2 separate regions of the Homo sapiens genome follow, and region 2 is linked to region 1. The links are contacts of gene promoters, found by promoter capture Hi-C in blood cells and fetal thymus (Javierre and others, 2016). All regions are on one chromosome and are shown on one strand. Each heading gives the region's core, a stretch centred on a gene start or on the middle of the fragment in contact. The rest is flanking DNA. Distances are from core to core; before and after follow the strand shown. Region 1 holds the start of CD3D (CD3 delta subunit of T-cell receptor complex). Region 2 has its middle 24 kb from the start of SCN4B.

Region 1 (2,928 bases), core at 1-2,500:
AAGCCACCTCAGTCCAGGCCTTCATTCAGGAATTTTTTTCACTTTTTTTTTCTTTTTCTTTTTTGAGACAGAGTCTCACTTTGTTGCCCAGGCTGGAGTGCAGTGGCGCTATCTCAGCTCACTGCAACCTCCACCTCCGGGGTTCAAGCGATTCTCCTGCCTCAGCCTCCTGAGTAGCTGAGATTACAGGTGCGTGCCAGCAAGCCCGGCTAATTTTTGTATTTTTAGTAGAGACGGGGTTTCACCTTGTTGGTCAGGCTGGTCTCGAACTCCTGACCTTGTGATCCACCTGCCTCAGCCTCCCAAAGTGTTGGGATTACAGGCGTGAGACACGGCACCTGGTTTCACTATTCTTTTGAGATCATGAAAGAGGCGCCTGGAAGGCAATAGGTGGAACAATTCCGAGGACAGGCCAGCACATTTTCAGGGGCCAGAGCCCGGACTGAATGTCCAGGATCTCAGGCCCCTATCTCCCTCAGCCAGTCAGTCAGTGAGCCAACAAAAATGTGCAGAGCTCCCGTTATGTGCCAGGCACAAGATACAGCAGTGAGCAAGACAGGCATGACTCTGTCCCCAGGTAAGTGACAGTCTAACTGCAGCAGCGTGAAGAGTTTCAGATCCTCGTAGGCCACAGGGGAAAAAGGTCCATTTGTCTCACCGGGAGGCTCAATATTGCCTGTCAGTCAATTATATTATTATTAATAACTACCCCTTAATGAGCACATATGATGCGTGAGGCACCATGCAAATATCTTGTTTGAATCCTAATAATGGTACTAATGGAATAAGACTCTGAAAAATTTTATGGCTGGCCCAGGCCCCACAGGTAGGCAGTATTGGACCCAGGATTCAAATCTCTGGCTGGGGTCTCTAAAGCCCAACCTCCCACTGACAAGAAGCTGCTAGATCTGGTGTCCCTGGCTGCCTAGTGAAGGGTCCTGAGAAAGATCAGCCTCCATGAGAAATCTAGCTGCTACGGCTTGCGCTATGGGGCCGACGGCTTCTCTCAAGGGGCTTCGAGATGTGGCAGTGTTTAGGTTGTGTGTAAATGTGGTTGCATTGTCAATAGGGACGCTAAAGTTCAGGCCACCTTTTCCATATTCTCTGCCAGCTCCCTGCTCAGAGATAGAGCAATTTACACCGCTTCCTTCCTACCCTACCCCTAGCCCACCCCCACTCTGAAAATTTCCCACCATCAACGGCAGAAAGCAGAGAAGCAGACATCTTCTAGTTCCTCCCCCACTCTCCTCTTTCCGGTACCTGTGAGTCAGCTAGGGGAGGGCAGCTCTCACCCAGGCTGATAGTTCGGTGACCTGGCTTTATCTACTGGATGAGTTCCGCTGGGAGATGGAACATAGCACGTTTCTCTCTGGCCTGGTACTGGCTACCCTTCTCTCGCAAGGTAAGGCTACTCCAGGTGGGTGGGGGAAGGGACCTGAGAGGGACATTACTGATGGGAGTGAGGCCCACTTGAAAGTGTTTCTTGCCAGGCACGGTGGCTCACACCAGTAATCCCAGAGCTTTGGGAGGCCGAAGTGGGAGGATCCTTTGAGGCCAGGAGTTTGAGACCAGTCTGAGCAACATGATGAGACTCTATCTTTACAAAAAACAAAAGAATTAGCCAGGCATGGTGGTGCACAACTGTAGTCCCAGCTATTTGAGAGGCTGAGGCAGGAGGGTCACTTGAGCCCGGGATTTCAAGGCTTCAGTGAGCTGTGATCATGCCACTGCCCTCCAACCTAGGCAACCTGTGAGACCTTATCTCAAAAAAAAAAAAAAGTGCTTCTCGGTGCTAGCTTCAGTTCACCAGGCACCCCAGGGGTGTCAGGAGGGCAGGGGCAGGATGTAGCATAGAGTCTGGGAAACAGGCTCTTGGCTTTGACTGACTCCAGCCATGGGTGCATGTGGGCCTAGAATGTCTCTCAGAAGGCCTTAGGCCAGAGATCTGCAGAAAATAGCTCAGTACGTATGTACCTGAATCTGGGACTGGCCATGGGAGCACAGCTTCCTGCACTACTCCTTTTAGGCCTGATGGCCTCTGGAATCAGGACTCTTGTTTGTTTGGCCATGATTATGTCATCCCTGGAGGCATGTCCTAGCACTTATGTGAATGCTTTAAGAGAAGTTAACTTTAGGTTGAGCAGGACGGAGGGAAGATTTGAGGGGTTGTTACATGGTAGGATTTTAACTCATCTCAGTTTGCCAATTTCAGTTTTAAAATGGAAAGTCCCATGTCCGAGGAACCCCTTCAACACTAAGCAAACTGGGTCCAATGGTCACCTAATAGTTGGCTGCACTAGGGCACTCAGGATTTCCACTGGAGACAGATCCCTGAAGAGGACGCGACTGTAGGACGTGAAGCATTTGATGTGCATGTGTCTCCCTGAGGATACATGCATATACTTCCAACCTGCTTCAGAAGTGTGAGCAACAGCTGTTTCAGGGTTTTCTAGAAGATGCTCTTGTATCCAAATTTGGGACTTAGTGTGAAGCCCAGGATGAATGAATGTAGCCTCCACTTTTCCCTGTGTTTGGAGGCATAGACTGTAGTGCCTCTGTGGCCTGTGGAGATGTGCTCAGGCTGTCAGAGGAACTCACTGCATCTGGAATGTTGCTGCACTCACCTCCAGCCCTAAAAGTCTCCCACAAGACTTGACTTGTGAGGAGCTCTAGGGATGGATTCAATAAAATTTTTTTCCTGTTCTCCTCCTTCTAACCAAGGGTGGAAAACTGTACATGGGATTTGCCCTGGTCCCGTTCTGGACCACTTGGCTGATAATTCAGGGGCTGGTAAACCAGCTGGTCTCCACCCACAGCCATCCCTGGCCCTGGGAAAGGCTTCAGTGTTGAGAGCCCCGCTTTCTTGGTTGTCAATGGAGCAGGGGCAATGAGGAAGGATGAGGATAAGAAGCTGAAGTGGGAGTGTTG
Region 2 (3,597 bases), core at 239-2,738, 210 kb after region 1:
TAGAGCGCACACAGCAGGAGGGGAGATGTTCTCTCATAGCTCATTGCTTAAACAAAGCCACCCGCAGTGCTAACAGGAAAGATGTAGGGTCCCCTTCCATGGCCTGCAAGCAGATATAGAAAAGAACAATCCTGGACTTAGAATCCAGGAATCTGGGTTCAAGTTCTCACTCTGTTACCTACCAGTGAAACGGCCTTGGGAAAGCCACTTCATCTCTCCAAGCCTTAGTTCCCTAACCTGCAAAATGGGGATGATGACATCTACTGCATGGTACTCTTGTAAGATTAAATGAATCAACAGGTGTGAATTTTTTTTTTTTTTTTGAGACAGAGTCTGGCTCTGTTGCCCAGGCTGGAGTACAGTGGCACGATCTCAGCTCACTGCAACCTCCACCTCCTGGGTTCAAGCAATTCTCCTGCCTCAGCCTCCCAAGTAGCTGGGATTACAGGCATGTGCCACCATGCCCAGCTAATTTTTTGTATTTTTAGTAAGACGGGGTTTTGCCACGTTGGCCAGGCTGGTCTTGAACTCCTGACCTCAGGTGATCTGCTCGCTTTGGCCTCCCAAACTGCTGGGATTACAGGCATGAGCCACCATGCTTGGACTGAAATACTTAAAAACTACAAAGTGCAGGCCATGTAAATGTTAAGTAGTTTGTAAGCTGAGCCAGCATTACGGGAGGAAAACCCAGGTGTGGCCAGCACTGAGCTCACACCCTCCTGTTCCTGGTCAGGAGGGGCTGTCAGCTGAGTGGGTGAGGGCTGGGAGGCGAGTGACCAGCCCTTCCTGACTTCCTGGCAGACTTGGTTATGTCAACTGCCCAAAACCAAACTCATGATTTCACCTCAATCTGACCCCAAATCTGCTCCTCCCCACGTTTCCTCATTCATCCAGTCATCAGGCCAAAAATTTTGGAGTCTACCATGACTCCTTATTTTGTCTCCGACCTGAAACCTTTTTGTCAGCAAATCCCATTAACTCTTATGTTCAAAATATATCATCACCTCAACTACCTCTCGCTACCACCATCCCTACAGTCCTTGCCCAGGCCGCCCTGGCTCTCCCCTGGATTATTGCAGTAGCTTTCTCACTGGTCTTCCTGCTTTTACCCTTGGTCCTCTTTAATCTAATTTCCAGGGTGGTTCTTTTAAAACAGGATTAGATGATGTCATCTCTAGCTCTGGCCAAGGTGGAGGCATAGGGACCATTTACCCTTGCACCTCAAACAACTAAAAAAATTGGAAAGCACCTATGATACAATGGTTTTCAGACCCTGGACAATAGGCAGCAGAGAATTGTCATTCCTGAGAGGGAGAAACGCAGGAGATGAGCTTTACTGTTGCTCCAGTTTACTGCCTGGAGATCGTTTGTAGGCTGTAGTGCCTGGAAGGCTGGGGAGAGGGCCCCAGGCTAAGCCTAGCATTCTCTCTGAGTTGTGGAGAGGTGCCAAGAATCTGGGGGGAGGTTAGGATAGTAAGAGTTTGCAGGACCAGAGAACCTTGGAGGGTCCTCCCAAGTTTTCAGCTGAGCGCTGATAGTGCAGTTGTGTGAGGAAACTACCTAAGGCAAGGGAAGGAGCCTCTAGAAAGGATGAGGAAGGAAAATCCCTGGAGCTCACATAGGGCAGCCTTTAATCCAGGGCTGACCTCACCCCACTACTGAGGCAATGCCCTTTGAATACTCTTCCTCATCTCTCATGAATTAGGAAGTTTTGCCATTTTAGTTGGCTGTAATGTGAACTACTCTTCGCCCTGCATGAGCTCCGGGGATTGCTTCCTCTAATCTTTTCTGGTGGTTCTTTCTCAGCCTCGGGTGTGCCTGGATCAGCAGCTGAAGGCTCACGGGGACCGTTTGCAGATCTCTGGAGCGCTGTCTCTGTGAAGCTGTCTCTTCTCTGAGATACTGCCCAGTGAGCCCTATCCACAGGACTCCTGACTCCATCTCCTTGATTCTGAGAGGTTGCCAGACTCTGCCCGAGTCCCCTTTCCTGGTGCTGTAGCAATTGGAGGGCTCCCTCATTTGGTTCTCCGCTCTCAGGAATCACTGACCTGTGCTGCCTGATGCCCTGTGTCTGAAAGCCATTTCGTGCATTTTCCCCCCAGCGTTTTAGTTGTTTCAGATGGGAAAGTAATTGCATTTTTTGTTACTGCATTCTTGTCAGAAGAAATTCATGAAAATTTATGTTCACTGAAAAACCCGTACAGAGTTGCTTCTAGAGGTTTTGCCATTGCCAAAACAAATAAATAACCTAAATCTCTGACTGGTGAGTAGATAAAACAAACTGTGTCTAGCCATACAATACAATGGAATATTCCACAAAATCCCATGCACTATGGGATTCTCAAATGCAGTATGCTAAGTGAAAGCACTGGATGAATCTCAAATGCAGTATGCTAGGTGAAATAATTCAGACTCAGAAAGGTACCTGCGTTATCATCTGTGACCCATGTACCACTCTGGTGGGGGTGTTGATGATAATGAGGGACACTCCTGCATGTGTGGAGGCAGGGAGTATATATGAAATCTCTTTACCTTCTGCTCAGTTTTGCTGTGAAACTAAAACTGCTCTAAAAAAAATATTAAGTGTTGGGTTGGTTGCGGTGGCTCATGCCTGTAATTTCAGCTTTGGGAGGCTGAGTTGTAAGGATCCCTTGAGGCCAGGAGTTCAAGACCAGCCTGGGCAACATAGCGAGACCTTGTCTCTCCCAAAACATAAATAAATAAATAAAATAAAAATTAACAATAAAATAAAAAGTGAAGTATTAAGAAAGCCTAAGTCCAGGCGTGGTGGCTTACGCCTGTAATCCCAGCATTTTGGGAGGCTGAGGATGGTGGATCACTTGAGGTCAGGAGTTTGAGACCAGCCTGGCCAACATGGTGAAACCCCGTCTCTACTAAAAATACAAAAATTATCCGGGCATGGTGGCAGGTGCCTGTAATCCCAGCTACTCGGGAGGCTGAGATGCGAGAATTGCTTGAAATCAGGAAGCAGAGGGTATAGTAAGCCAAGATCGTACCACTGCACTCCAGCCTGGGCTGGACTCAGTCTCAAAAAAAAAAAAAAAAAAGAAAGCCTAAAGCCTCAAAAACAAACAAAAAGATACTTACTATATGGTTCCATTTATATTACATTCTGGAAAAAGCAAACTATAGGGACAGCAAACAATAGGGACAGCAAACAAAACAGTGGTTGTAAGGCGCTATAGGTTGGGGACGGGTTGGCTATAAAGGGCAAGCGAGGCTTTTTGTGGGTGATGGAGCTATGGTGGTAGTTGCTTACTTGTGTACATTTGTCAAAATTGGCAGAATTCTACACTAAAAATGAATTTTACTGTATGTAAATTACACTTTAAAAAAATTACAATGAGATGATGTCACTCTTTCTTGCTCAGAACGAGTGTCTATCTTATTCAGTCCTCATAGCAGCCCAGAAGGCCCTATTGTTCCGGCCCCCATGGACTCTTGGATATCTTCTTTTTTTTTTTTTTTTTGATACGAGGTCTTGCTCTGTTGCCCAGGTTGGACTGCAGTGGTGCAAGCTTGGCTCATTGCAGCCTTGATCTCCTGGGTCCAAGCGATCCTTCTACCTCAGCCTCT

Evidence for each region. Contacts are between HindIII fragments. The CHiCAGO score rates a contact against its expected background, and 5 or more counts as called.
Region 2: a contact is called between a fragment that was not itself captured here and the fragment with the promoter of CD3D in region 1, in 1 of 17 cell types (neutrophils). The highest score is 5.1, in neutrophils.

What each region holds. Positions count from the first base shown.
Region 1 is chr11:118,341,027-118,343,954 of GRCh38, reverse strand. It overlaps CD3D (CD3 delta subunit of T-cell receptor complex), which reads left to right and starts at 1,250. Exons shown (of 5, transcript NM_000732.6): 1 at 1,250-1,402. The coding sequence starts at 1,348. The HindIII fragment of the contact is 13,588 bases long and covers 1-2,928 here.
Region 2 is chr11:118,127,161-118,130,757 of GRCh38, reverse strand. No RefSeq gene overlaps it. Among named protein-coding and RNA genes, the nearest start is that of SCN4B, 24 kb to the left of the region's middle. RefSeq lists enhancers at 1-374, 375-876. The HindIII fragment of the contact is 4,106 bases long and covers 1-3,541 here.